Linked DNA regions of Homo sapiens: regions 1, 2, 3 and 5 are each linked to region 4. The links are contacts of gene promoters, found by promoter capture Hi-C in blood cells and fetal thymus (Javierre and others, 2016). All regions are on one chromosome and are shown on one strand. Each heading gives the region's core, a stretch centred on a gene start or on the middle of the fragment in contact. The rest is flanking DNA. Distances are from core to core; before and after follow the strand shown. Region 1 overlaps HIF1AN (hypoxia inducible factor 1 subunit alpha inhibitor). Region 2 overlaps ABCC2 (ATP binding cassette subfamily C member 2). Region 3 has its middle 69 kb from the start of DNMBP-AS1. Region 4 holds the start of CHUK (component of inhibitor of nuclear factor kappa B kinase complex). Region 5 overlaps CUTC (cutC copper transporter).

Region 1 (2,710 bases), core at 71-2,570, 310 kb before region 4:
ACTTTTACTATACCTTTTCTATATTTAGGTATGTTTAGATACACAAATACTTACCATTGTGTTAGAATTGACTATAATATTCAGCACAGTAATATGCTAACACCATGTAGTACATGGTTTAGTCAGAGGCTACACCATATAGCCTAGGCATATAGAAGGCTACACAATCTAGGTTTGTGTAACTATACTCTATGGTGTTTGCACAATGATGAAGTCACCTAACAACACATTTCTCAGAACGTATCCCTGACATTAAGCATCACATGTCTGTATTTCAGAGAGGTCCCTAATATCTCAGTATACACACTCACATAACAGCTGAGGAAGGGAAAAGGGAACTTTTTAGAATACACGAAACTAGCTTAAAGACTCGACATAAGCCGGGTATGGTGGCACACGCCTGTAGTGTCAGCTACTTGGGAGCTAAAGCAGGAGAATCACTTGAACACGGGAGGCGGAGGTTGCAGTGAGCCGAGACCACACAACTGCACTCCAGCCTAGGCAACAGAGTGAGACTCTGTCTCAAAAAAACAAAACAACAACAACAAAAAAAAACAGACTCGACATACATTATTTCATTTAATCTTCACAACTTCACAACTATTTACAAGACATTATCATGTTTCATTTCTTTTCATTTTTCCTTTTTTAAGCAATAGGATCTCACTCTGTTGCCCAGGCTGCAGTGCAGTGGTGCAATCATAGTTCACTGTAGCCTCAAACTTCTGGCTTCAAGCAATCCTCCTGCCTTGGCCTCCCAAAGTGCTGGGATTACAAATATGAGCTACCATGCCTGGCCCTATTATGTTTCTTTTTCTTTCTTTTGAGACAGAGTCTTGCTCTGTCGCCAGGCTGGAGTGCAGTGGCGTGATCTTGGCTCACTGCAACCTCCACCGCCTGGGTTCAAGCAATTCCCCTCTCTCAGCCTCCCGAGTAGCTGGGACTACAGGCACGCACCACCATGCCCAGCTGATTTGTTTTCTTTGTATTTTAGTAGAGACGGGGTTTCATGATGTTGGCCGGGATGGTCTCCATCTCCTGACCTCATCATCCACCCACCTTGGCCTCCCAAACTGCTGGGATTACAGGCGTGAGCCACGGCATCCAGCCCCTATTATGTTTCTTTTAGAGCTGAGTAGGCTGAGGCTTAAGAAAGTGAAGTGGCTTGTTCAAAGTCATGGAGCTAATAAGCGGTGAAGACAGGATTAGAAATCAGGTTCATATGACTCCAAGCCATGCTGCTTTTGAAAGATTTCTTACCTTCCATGCCAATGAGCAGCAGGTTAGAGGTAAGCTGCCCCCAGCCACGCTTTCCCTGTTGCTTATTAATCCAGTTCCAGTTAAAACCTAAGAAGTCCATGACAATCTTCCTGCCCACAGTGTCATTGAGCGTTTGCTGCAGATACAACCTATGTTCCCCAAGAAGAAAATCCTATTAGTGCATGCACACACAGCCCCTGGCATGGCCTCTCCACATCTGAAAATCCAAGCCCAAATCCATACCAGCATCTCCCACAGAGAACAGATGTAGTCAGGCAAATTTTAGCCAACATGGATTCTCATACAACTGAATTCTTACTTATCCTTCATTGAGTTATGTTCAACACCAAATTTTTTAATTTACTGGTTTTTCTTTGTTTTGTTTAAAGAAACAAGGTCTCAATATGTTGTCCAGGTTGGTCTTAAACTCTTGGGCTCAAGCAATCCTCCTGCTTCTGCCTCCCAAAGTGCTGGGATTACAGGTGTGAGACACTGCATCTGGCCCCCAAACTTTTTCTTTAAAGAAGTGATGCTTAACCTTTTTTGGGTCACAGAATGACTCCTTTAAGAATCCAAAGAGTAGGAGGGTGAGATGAAAAATAAAATTAAAAAAAAAAAAAAGAACCTGGAGAAGAAGTCCCAGCTACTCAGGAGGCTGAGGCAGGAGAATCACTTGAACCTGGGAGGCAGAGGTTGCAGTGAGCTGAGATCGTGCCATTGCACTCCAGCCTGGGTGACAAGAGCAAGACACCATCTCAAAAAATATAAATACATAAATAAATAAATAAAAGAATCCACGGAGGTTCCCCATAAAAATGCACATACACCCAGAACTTTCACACAATTTCAGACTCCTAGAAGCCTATCCACAGACCCTAGAATGATGAATCAGTCTCACTCCAGAGACTCGCAGAGCCTGAGACATCTCCGTTGGCCCTTGATGACCACTGTGGTAAATTGTATTACTGTTCACCAAGAGCTGGTTCCCTCAGTGTGCGAGTTTTCTTTCACATCCCCTTGAAGCCAGGCTTGCTTATTTACGCTGCTCTGGCCAAGGAAATGTCCACAGAAGCGACTTGTGTTGTTTCCAACTGTAATTTAAGAACAAGTTACCACTACCACATCTCTTTCCTTCTGCCACAGCAACTCCAAAGTTCTAGATAGTAGCTGCTGGGGCAATCTGGGTGCCAGAGCAAGTAAGATGATGTAAAGAACAATATGACATTACCCATGATCAACATGTAGTAAGTGAGAAATAAGCCTCTGTTGTTTCTAGCCCGAGCTCTGGCTTGAAGCCTAGTTTATCTTAACTGATTCAGCCACCTATCCTGTTGCAGCCTTCTACAGCTAAAGTAAGGAAGATAGCTTATTAGGTAAAGGCCTCAGGCTCCTAACATACCTGAGGAAGGTCATAAGTTACTTAAGAGATATGAAAACCCAGACACACTTG
Region 2 (2,700 bases), core at 61-2,560, 400 kb after region 4:
TCTGTTCAATTAAGTGACCAAAACTGTGCCTCGGTGGTGTGTGAAGGTACAGAGAATTCTGGAGGTATGCAGAGTGCTGAGGGGGTAAGAACTGGAACAGGGTAGAATCCAATGCAGGGAAGAACCCTGTGGCCTGAGGGCAAGGGGGAGTGGAATGGGTCCGTGCTGCTACTAGATTCTGTGAGGATTTGTTGAAACCTGGGAAGAGTGGGGCGTTGGAGAGACGGGATGCAAAATGTTATACATGGACATACAGATGTTCCCTCCAATAACCCTGCTTCTTGTTTGTTGGCTTGTTATTAATAGTTAAAAGGCCGCTATGGTGACAATGTGCCTGAGGAACTGTACACGGACATGGGGGCGAGCCGCCAATCGCAGGCCACAAGGCCACGAGCCCCTGATCAGTGTCTTCAGAATTGTTTCCCCAGGCAAACAATTCACCACAAAAGCAGCTGGTGGGACCAGAGTTCCTCCACAGCCTCCCCTTCCCTCATCCATTTTATTGTGGGAATAGGGTTCCTTCCACTCGTTCCAGTTTCCCTGTTTTGCTTTCAAGCTGCACATTCCCTCGAAGAATACACTGGAATTGAGCCTAAACCACCCACAGACACCCCAGTGAAACTAGAACTTTGCCGAAGTAAAAAGAAAGACCCAGCTGCTGCTGAGAGACATCTCCAAGCAGCTATGCCTGTCCAAAGTCAACCAAGGAAGCACCATAGCATGGCTCTTCTGGAACCGACCTAATCGTCATGGGGGTTCTTATGGAGCTGCAAGACTGTGTCCAGAGCCAATCTCAAAGTAGTCTTGGATCCAAACGTAAATCTGTCCGACCTAAGCTTCCAGGGAGTGAAGGGTGGGCAGCAGTTAGGGTGACATTTGCCATAAATGGTGCACCCATTGATGCTCTCACTTCAGCTTCAGACAGTGGCCTGTGGGCTCCTGGGTATGTCAACATATGACTAAATGGCAAAGCTGCTGAGGGGAGGAGTGAGTGACTAGCAATGAATCAGAGAGAAGATTCTCAGGAAAGAGGCTGGGCTTTTATAGATAGAGAGGAAGGAAGGATGACTTAGCCATTTCCAAACCTACCTGAACAGATACATAAATAATGCCAAGAGGAATGACGATGATGGTGAAGACAGGAGTGGCCATGCAGATCATGACAAGGGTGCTGATTATCCCCAGGAAGCATGTAATCCAGCTGCGCAAGGACTGAGGCAGGGTGTCATCCACTGTGGAAATATCCTAGGAAAACGATTAGGAGAGATACACCATCACTGAGGTCTTCCTAAGATAGTTTACATCTTCCTAGTTCTAGCAAGGAATCTGTTGGATTCTGTGTGTTCCCAGTACTCCTTCATGTAATCATTTCATTGTGTTCATTTGCAATAGGCTGCATTGCTTGCCCCAATAACCAATTTCATTTCCATAATTTCTTCATTTAGGCCTGGCGTGGTGGTCACACCTGTAATCCCAGCACTTTGCAAGGCCGAGGCGGGTGGATCACCTGAGATCGGGAGTTCAAGACCAGCCTGACCAACATGGTGAAATCCCATCTCTACTAAAAATACTCAGGAAGTTGCTTCCTCTGCTAAGCATAGAGGACCAAGGGGAAGGGAGCTGGGGTTGAATGTGAGCCTGCCTGGACAGTGTTCTAACCAAGGAACCCAGCGGGAACAGATGTGTCTTACTGCCATGTTGCCTTCGTGTCATGTGAAATAAATGAACAAATAAGAAAAATGAATGAATGGATGGATGGTTTGGAGAACACTCAAGAAGCTTGGTTTATATTTTGGGTTGCCCTTGCCTAAATTTGTGGGGATTATATTGATTCTATGATTGGTAATATGTGAGTACCAAAGTGAGTTTAAGTTATCTCTGGAATTTCTCAAACTGTATCAGGGATAATGGTCTTCCAGGAAAGCTCTGAATCATGGATGACTCCTGAGTCTAACCTACCTTTCCCAAAGTCCTATCAGAATGCAAATAACTATACCCACAGTTGGCAGAGAAAAGAAATCCCTACCAGTTATCAGTTCTATGCAGATTACTTTTGATCCTTACCTGGCACAGAGTCTCCATCTTTCCTTCCTCCACTCCATCTCCTCTTAACTCAGCCATTGATCCCAGAGGCCCCTTGATCAAACTCCCCTTAATAGGTCTGAGCCACCTCCCCAACGAAACATACTATATAATTAATGACAGTTTCCTTTCTCATGCAAAAGCAGTCTTCAAACTATGACTGTTGCCTAAGTAACTCACAGAAAACCTCTGTGTTCTCTTTCCCAGAAGATTATATATATTACAACATGGGGAAAACTGTGATCTTTACAAAATTACTATGAGAAATTTCTCACCCAAAATTGAGTGTTCTTTTAGGTTCTAGTAAAGAGCAGAAAGGCCATTGAAGTTGTCTCTAGTGACATCATGCCCACTGTTTCTGCCCCAGAGGAAGATGACACAGGGGGACCAGTTAATGGCCCACTTTTGAAGCAGTTACTGTGTCCCCAGAACCTGGCTGTGGACTGTGAGCTATACTTTCTATGTCTGCCCCAAGACCAACAAACAAGAGTCCAGAGCTGCTCCATAAGCACAGGGCTAAAAACTGTGCTGGTGATAGTTACTTATCATTCAGAATTGCCTGATCTCTGCCTCTGTTCCTGAATTCCCATCTCAGATACACTAAAAAATCAGTGAGTT
Region 3 (2,700 bases), core at 180-2,679, 370 kb after region 4:
CCCCTCTGATTATTGTGTATAGATATCTCTTCCTCTCAGGAACAGATCCAATGAGATGTGAGAATCCAGTGAGATGATGTCCACAAACTTTCATGAAATGTGAGCTCCAGAGGAGCTCAGTTTCAATAAGGATTGAATTTTGTGTCACCCCATTTTAGTTAATTGTGAAGCTTGGATTCTGTTGATGAGGGTGTTAGTTCAGGGTCAGGAGTACAAACGGGCCTTAACAGTTGTGCTCTGAACTGTGTTTCATTTGCAGAACCTTATGCTTGAGGACCGAGAAACCTCCAGCTTTAAATACTTCATGCTAAATCCCCTCTCTGGTCGCCACATAACTCACGGGGCATTAAACTCTCCCGCCTGGTGGTACATGATACTGCTGAAGTCTTCACGGTTTTACCTTTGCCATGTGTAGCAGATCACCCAGTGCTTCAGAGCAGGGGCAGTGGACTCCGATCTGTCTGAGCCCCTGGCTTATGTCCCACAGCCTCTGCTAGAACTTTGCTGCAATTGTTGGTGCAGGTCAGCATTAGTATTTTACATATGTCAAGAAAGGAGTTTTCCACAAGTTGCAGATTTTGCAAGCTACATAGGGATACCTACGCCTTAACACTCAAGAGATGACCCTCAAGCAGAGAGGGGCAGAATTAGTGCCTTCCCAGCGATAGGCTGTGGGGTGGTGGTGGAAGGGAGCAAGCCTCTGGTTAGAGTCTCGGCAATGTATTCATTCTGGAAACATTTCTGGGGAGCAGTCAGGTGGGTGAGACCCTGCAGCCACCCTGACAGGTCCTTAGACGGAGCAGGACCACGGCACACAGCAATGCCTGTGAACCACCACACCTCGGCATCTCACCAAGCATTTCTCACAGCAACCACCCCAGAGGTCCAGAATTAGGAAAGCTGAGGGTGAGAAATTCTCAATCTGCTGTCGTCAAAAACAGGACTCACTTTGACAAGAGCCCTCACTACAGCCTTCAGTTGAGACCAAGAAAATACCCGCAACTCTGTTCAAACTGAATAAGATTTTTGCAATTTGATAGAAGGGATGCCAGGCACGAGTATTGCAACCAACTTTTAGCTGGGCTTAAAAGGCAGCATGACCCTCTACATACTCAAACTACAGTGGGATTTAATGAAGAAGATCCATGAATTGTCATTAAACTGACTTTAGCTGAAGAACTGTGGCAGTTTTATCACAGCTACCTGGGCTTACTTTTATTAGTTTCCTATTGCTGGAACAAGTTACCACAAATTTAGTGGCTGAAAACAAATTTATCTCAGCATTCTGGAGGTCAGAATTCAAAATTAGTCTCACCGGGCTAAAGTCAAGGTGTTGGCAGGGCTGGTTCCTCATGGATGCTCCAGGGGAGAATTCATTTCCTTACCTTTTCCGATTCCTAAGGTCTGCATATCCTGGCTTGCGGCCACTCCCTCCATCTTCAAAGCCAGCAGCGTGGCACCTTCAACTGTCTCACTCCGTCCGTCATCGCAGCACGCTCTCACTCCGACTGTCCTGCCTCTTTTATAAGAACGCTGTGTTTACATTGAGCCCACCTGGCCAATCCACGGTGCTCTCCCCATCTGAAGACCCTTAACTTAATCACATCAGTGAAAGTCCTTTTTTCCAGGGAAGGTGGCATATTCACAGGCTTTGAGGATTAGGATGTGGACATTTTTGAGGACCATTATTCTATCACAGGTGTGAAGCCACATGACATTTTAAAGGCAAATAGTTTTGTTTTGTTTTTTTTTTGAGACAGATTTTGCTCTTGTTGCCCAGGCTGGAGCGCAATGGCACAATCTCAGCTCACGGCAACCTCCGCCTCCCGGGTTCAAGTGATTCTCCTGCCTCAGCCTCCCGAGTAGCTGGAGTTACAGGCATGCACCACCATGCCCGACTAATTTTTTGTATTTTTAGTAGAGGCGGGGTTTCTCCATGTTGGTCAGGCTGATCTTGAACTCCTGACCTCAGGTGATCCGCCCACCTCAGCCTCCCAAAGTGCTGGGATTACAGGCGTCAGCCACCGCGCCCGGCCAGCAAATAGTCTTTTTGAGCATGGAATCGTGACCCAGTCCAGGCTACATTGGTGGCTCTAGAGCAGTGGTCAGCAAACCTGTTCTTAAAGGGCCAGATAGTAAATATTTTAGGCTTTGTGGGCCAATTCCTCAACTCTGTATTGTAACATGAAAGCAGGCACAGATGGCAAAGAAACAAAGGAGCATGGATGTGTTCCAGTAAAACTTTATGTGCAAAAACAGGTAGCAGGGCAAATTTGGCCCTAGAGCCATACCCCTACTCTAGGTCCAACTAAAATAAAAGAATTCTGTTCAACCATTAACATTGGAGTCAAGTTTGCAGAGAAATTAGACTGTTGGATTAAGGACAATGAAAAGCTGGCCAAAGAGTAATTGGTTTACAGATTGGACCTAATAATTGTGTCAACCAGGCAAATATTTATTATACCAGAAGCTACCTTTATATTACCAGAATGCAAACCCTGACAAACCAGACCACAGGTGTCCGCAGATGAGCACTAAAAAAGAAGCAGCCAGGCAAAGCTATTGTTTAGCACCAGGTATCAAGAGCAATACCTGTGACCAGAGCTAATAGTACAACCAGTGCTATCCACAATCTTCTGACAACCAAGTTGTTTCCCAGAGAAGAACGAGTGTCTATAGCAAGCTTGTCCAGCCCATGGC
Region 4 (2,753 bases), core at 56-2,555:
AATGACATGTCCTCAGAGGCATCATCATCTCCAAGTCCATGGAAACCATGCACTTACAGAAACCAGAACCTCCCATACCACATGTTACTAATGACCTACAACATCGACTTCGTCTGTATCATGCAGTGCTCAACATTCTGGTTGCAGCATCACATTTATCAATAATTTGATTCCATGCTGATTCCTTTACTTGGAGTATTGAGATCCCCCAGGTACAGTGAAGGTATGACCCTCTTAAATGGAAGACCAGGAGTTGTTTCCCCTATGCTATGGCAATCCGCCACCCGGAAGCACTTGCTGCACCAACAGCATTCCCAAAGCTTGCCTCTGCAGCCCTGTAGCACCCATTAGAAACACTTCTCACAATGAACTACTGTGCTGGCAAACCCATAACTGGACTGCCGGACAGCAAGCTCTGTGAGGCATCTAGGAAAAAAGCTCGCGAAATCCCGAGAAACACTCTTCACTCCGGAATAGCGTCACATTCTTGAGTCATTTGGGATGACAGGGGATATCCTGGAGCAGGTGTATTGGGAAGTCAGTGAACAAGAAGGCTAATTCATTAGTGGGCCTGCTAGCGTAGTATTTTAACGATTTCGCAGCCTTTAAATCATTGGTGGTCTTTAGCGTGCCGGATCAGCTGGTGGTGGAGTTGGAGGATAGATGGCAGGGATCTGAAGAAAGGTGAAGTGTAGATAGGAGTAGAGACAATATGAAGTTTAGAAAAGACTAATTGCTGGACGCGGTGGCTCATGTCTATAATCCCAGCACTCTGGGATGCCAAGGTGGGAGGACTACTTGAGACCAGGAGTTCGGGACCAGCCTGGGCAACGTAGCAAGACCATGTCTCTACAAAAAATAAAAAATTAGCCAAGCGAGGTGGTGCGCGCCTGCAATCCCAGCTACTCGGGAGGTGAGAAGATCGCTTAATTCCGGGAGGTCGAGGCTGCAGTGAGCCGTGATCGTGCCATTGCACTCCAGCCTGGGCAACGGAGCGAGACCCCATCTTAATTAAAAAGAAAAAAATACAGGAGAGACTGGGCTGCTTTGAAAAGTGGATTTGACGGGAATGTGGGGTTTGGAGAGATCTTATGTTTTCCAAGACTAGAAAAACATTGTGGTTCCGTTCAGCCCTCCCGGAAAATACGTAGGGGACTTAAAGAGCGGACCGAGTACCTGTTTGTTTCCCCATCCCTTAGCCGGCAGGGCTCTGGCAGCGCCCTGGGAGAACTTAGGGAAGGGCCTTCTCGCAGCGGTTACCGGAAGTGACGCATTCATTCTCGCGAGAACAAAGACGCGCGAGCATCGGCGGCCCGGAACCGGCCTTGGAACAACTGTGGAACCTGAGGCCGCTTGCCCTCCCGCCCCATGGAGCGGCCCCCGGGGCTGCGGCCGGGCGCGGGCGGGCCCTGGGAGATGCGGGAGCGGCTGGGCACCGGCGGCTTCGGGAACGTCTGTCTGTACCAGCATCGGGTGAGGCGGGGCGTGAGAGGGAGCGGCGGTGGGTTGGAGCGGCGGTGGGTTTGAGCGTCTGTGGAACACAGGGCTGACAGTGTGGGATAGATGGTTGGTGGGACCTTGGGCAGTATTTGGGGGCCAGTGGGCTTGTGTGTGTGTATTAGAGAGAAAGATACTATGCCTGTGTGTCCAAAGTTGTATTTGAGGTACTGGGCATAGATAGAGCTGTTGCGGGGAACTTGGGTATGACTGTCAGGCTGTGACCAGGTGTTTAGTGAGTGTGACAGTGCGTGTGTGTCTCTGTGAATGTGGAGTGTCAGGGTGTGTGAGGCAGATGCACGTCACAGTGTGTATGTAGGAGCACGAATGTGTGAGAAGAGGGCTGAAGGGGACTGCCTTTGGGAATGTGTGCGTCCGTGTGTGTGTGTGTGTGTGTGTGTGTGTGTGTGCGCGCGCGCGCGCGCGCTTGGAGGCCATATGATATCAGTGGGGACTGGAGTAGACAAGGAAGGCTTCATGATGGGTCCAGAGTTAAGCCTTTGGAAGCATGGATGGGCTTTGGAATTGGGGATGTATTCCAGGTCGGGACAGTATGAGGGTGAGTTGGTGCAGAGCATGGCTTCAAACGAAAGGCTATATTAGTAGATGGAGATGGGGGGCGCTCTAGTAGGTGGAGGACAGTTAACATCAGACTCAAGAATTTTACTTTGATTTAATAGAGAATGTTTAACCATTGTAGTAGCAGTTAAAAAATCATATTTGGGTCTTGTTTGTTTGTTTTTGTTTTTGAGACGGAGTCTCACTCTGTCGCCCAGGCTGGAATGCAGGGCGCGATCTCGGCTCACTGCAGCCTCCTCCTCCCGAGTTCAAGCGATTCTCCTGCCACAGCCTCCTGAGTAGCTGGGATTACAGGCGCCCGCCACCGTGCCTGGCTAATTTTTTTGTATTTTTAGTAGAGACGGGGTTTCACCATGTTGGCCAGGCTGGTCTCGAACTCCTGACCTCAGGCGATCCACCTGTCTCAGGCTCCCAAAGTGCAGAGATTATAGGCGTGAGCCACGGCACCAGGCCTGGGACATGTATTTTTTGATATACCGATAAAAGCTGTGAACCCTTTCCCCAGAAAAATGCACAGATGCACATTCACACAACCATGCATTGCCATTTGAGAGGTTCGTGCCTTCCTAAAGGACATTTTAGGTAAATAGACCCTGGACTAATAATTCCTGTAATATAGGCTTTGTTTTGTTGCCTGTAAAGTAAGTATAGTATAATAATTACATGCATCATGGATT
Region 5 (2,726 bases), core at 47-2,546, 490 kb after region 4:
ACAGTACAGGGAGGACAGAAAGATAACACTGGAGTAGCAAAGACTATCTCAATGGTTTAAAAAAAGGATTTTTTTTAAAAAAGATAGGCTTGGTACGGTGGCTCATGCCTGTAATCCCAGTGCTTTGGGAGGCTGAGATGGGTGGATTGCCTGAGGCAAGGAGTTCAAGACCAGTCTGGGTAAAATGGTGAGACTCCATCTCTACCAAACAAACAAACAAACAAATGTAGCTGGACATGGTGGCATATGCCTGTAATCCTAGCTACTTGAGAGGCTGAGGCAGGACAATTGCTTGAGCCCAGGAGTTTGAGGCTGTAGGGAGCTATGGTCACACCACTTCAGTCAAGCCTGGACAACAGGTGAGACCCTGTCAAAAGAAAAAAAGGAAGGAAGGAAAGCAAAGAGAGAGAAAAGGAGAAGGAAAGAAAAGAAAGGAAAGGAAGGAATGAAAGAAGAAAGGAAGACAGATAACTCTGGAGGTCTGCAGAGAACCTCCTTTAATATTCAGCTGAGTACTGACCGGTGCATGCATGCAAAGAAACTACGCAAGGCCTGGGACAGAACCAATAAAAAGGATTAGAAATAATGTGCCTGTCATTCATACCAAGCTGTGAATAATGCCTATTCCACCAGCCAGACAGGAAAATTTCAAAATTCATGGTCACAGGGTAGAGTTCACAGAAGAATCCTGACTCAGTAGTAAGGAATAATTAGCTCTGTATTAACCACTGCTCCAGACTTGCCCAGCAAATCTTAAAAGCAAGACCCAAAAGGACCAAACTGTTTTGGAACATTTGTAGGAATTCAAAAATGTCTAGTAACCAATAAAGTAAAATTCACAATGTCTTGCATCCAATAAAAAATTACAAGGCAGGAAAATAAGATATATTATTAGATGATAAATCAAATGAAACAAACCCAGAACTGATATAGATGTTAGAATTCGCAGACAAGGTCATTATAACAGCTATCATAACTTTATTCCACATGTTCAAAAAAGTTAAGAGACATCAGAGACATAAAAAGACTCAAATTTCTACAGATGAAGACTACAATGTATGAGATGAAAACATACCAGGAGAGACTAATAGCAGATTAGATAGTGCAGAAGAAAAGGTCAGTAAGCTCAAGGACAAAACAATAGCAACTATGCAAAATGAAAACACAGAAAGGAGATTTTCTTTTAAATAGAGAAGTTCATCAGTGACTTTTGGGACAATTTCAAGTAGTCTAATGTAAGAATAGCTTAAGTCTCTAAAGGAGGGAGTGGAGAACAAGCTGCAAGCTGAAAATTTTCCAAATGTGATGAGAAGTATAAATGCACAGGTCCAAGAAACATGAAAAAACTATACTCAGGTACACCATAAGAAAATTGTTCAAAACCAATAATAAAAAAATCTTAAAAGTAGGTAGAAAAAAGAGACATATTACATAGAGAAAAACAAAGATATGGATGATAGCTTTTTGTCAGAAACAATACAAGCAAGACGACAATGGAAAAACATCTTCAAAGAAAAAAAAAACCTGTCAACCTAGAATTCTATACCCAGCAAAAATACCTTTCAAAAATGAAGGAAAAAGCTATTTTAGACATATAAAAGCTGAAGGAATGAATCACTAGCATACTTTTTAACAAAAAAAGTTAAAGAAAGTACTTCAGGCAGAATGAAAATGAAACCAGACAGAAATACGGGATCTACACAAAGGAATAAAGAACACCAGAAATGGTAGTTGCATGTGGGTAAATATATGATTTTTTTCTTATTATTTAAATCTCTTATTTAACAAAAGATAATTGACTCTTCAAACAAAACTAACAATACAGCATGGAGTTTTTGATATATGTATGAGTAAAATATATGACAACAATAGCACAAAGACCAGGAGGGGATTTCAATATACTAAGGATGCCAGCATGGAAAGATTTTATAAAAGCCTAATCCTTGATGTTACTACAGAGCAGCTGAACCGGTATTAACAATTACCTACCTACCTTTCAACTTTTTGATGTGAGAAAGAAATATGTTTGATCAAATCTTTGATTTTTTTACAATCATAAACATTTCTGATACAACATCCATAACATAGTTAACATGACATTAGTAAAGGACCCCAACGAAACTGATTATCAGTTGCTTCCAGGCTCTATGAACTCCAATCAGAAAACCTGGGAAAAATGGACACTTACCCATGCTGGGTGTAGTTCCCCCCTCTGATAAACCAGAACATAATTCAATCCGATCAGCACCTGTAATATAAAAGCATTGCTCAACACATTTTTAAAAAATAAGCTGTTATTAAACAGCAACCTGTTTATATATATTTTTTCCAAATATAGAACAGTCTTAGAAATCATCTCAGAGAAATCAAATTATAAAGCTAGAGTAAAACTCTGTTTTTAACTCAGCTATACTCTGCAGCCCACATTGTGTTACTCATACTCAAATTTAAAAATTAATTAAAGTTAAGCTAGTTCTCTTAAATTTTTGTATTATAGGGTTGCCTCTCTATGTACAGGAAAGTAACATAGAATAAAGATGTTTCTTAAAACTGACTATAGTGGAATACTGAGTCTTTGTTGATAAGAAAATAACATAATATTTCCCAAAAGGGTCTTTATTATTCTAAGCTTTAAAAAACACAAAGCTACTTTTGAGTAGCTAAACCAAGATAATTTCAAGAATAAGAAAATGCTGAAACCAAAAGAATTATTAGGCTACCAAGGT

What was found. Contacts are between HindIII fragments. The CHiCAGO score rates a contact against its expected background, and 5 or more counts as called.
Region 1: a contact is called between a fragment that was not itself captured here and the fragment with the promoter of CHUK in region 4, in 1 of 17 cell types (fetal thymus). The highest score is 5.9, in fetal thymus.
Region 2: a contact is called between a fragment that was not itself captured here and the fragment with the promoter of CHUK in region 4, in 1 of 17 cell types (endothelial precursors). The highest score is 6.1, in endothelial precursors.
Region 3: a fragment that was not itself captured here is called in contact with the fragment with the promoter of CHUK in region 4 in 1 of 17 cell types (endothelial precursors); the score reaches 5.8 in endothelial precursors.
Region 5: a contact is called between a fragment that was not itself captured here and the fragment with the promoter of CHUK in region 4, in 1 of 17 cell types (endothelial precursors). The highest score is 5.1, in endothelial precursors.

Annotation. Positions count from the first base shown.
Region 1 is chr10:100,539,333-100,542,042 of GRCh38, reverse strand. It overlaps HIF1AN (hypoxia inducible factor 1 subunit alpha inhibitor), which reads right to left. Exons shown (of 8, transcript NM_017902.3): 3 at 1,261-1,409. Among named protein-coding and RNA genes, the nearest start is that of HIF1AN, 4.7 kb to the right of the region's middle. The HindIII fragment of the contact is 8,099 bases long and covers 1-2,710 here.
Region 2 is chr10:99,832,925-99,835,624 of GRCh38, reverse strand. ABCC2 (ATP binding cassette subfamily C member 2) reads right to left here. Exons shown (of 32, transcript NM_000392.5): 24 at 1,090-1,245. Among named protein-coding and RNA genes, the nearest start is that of ABCC2, 52 kb to the right of the region's middle. RefSeq lists an enhancer at 459-1,658. The HindIII fragment of the contact is 943 bases long and covers 839-1,781 here.
Region 3 is chr10:99,856,758-99,859,457 of GRCh38, reverse strand. No RefSeq gene overlaps it. Among named protein-coding and RNA genes, the nearest start is that of DNMBP-AS1, 69 kb to the left of the region's middle. The HindIII fragment of the contact is 2,513 bases long and covers 173-2,685 here.
Region 4 is chr10:100,228,148-100,230,900 of GRCh38, reverse strand. It overlaps CHUK (component of inhibitor of nuclear factor kappa B kinase complex), which reads left to right and starts at 1,305. Exons shown (of 21, transcript NM_001278.5): 1 at 1,305-1,473. The coding sequence starts at 1,369. It overlaps CHUK-DT (CHUK divergent transcript), which reads right to left and starts at 1,241. Exons shown (of 4, transcript NR_186419.1): 1 at 1,177-1,241. RefSeq lists silencers at 1-258, 1,328-1,567 and an enhancer at 1,168-1,217. The HindIII fragment of the contact is 6,397 bases long and covers 323-2,753 here.
Region 5 is chr10:99,739,232-99,741,957 of GRCh38, reverse strand. CUTC (cutC copper transporter) reads right to left here. Exons shown (of 9, transcript NM_015960.3): 3 at 2,189-2,248. Among named protein-coding and RNA genes, the nearest start is that of CUTC, 8.4 kb to the right of the region's middle. The HindIII fragment of the contact is 2,671 bases long and covers 1-2,631 here.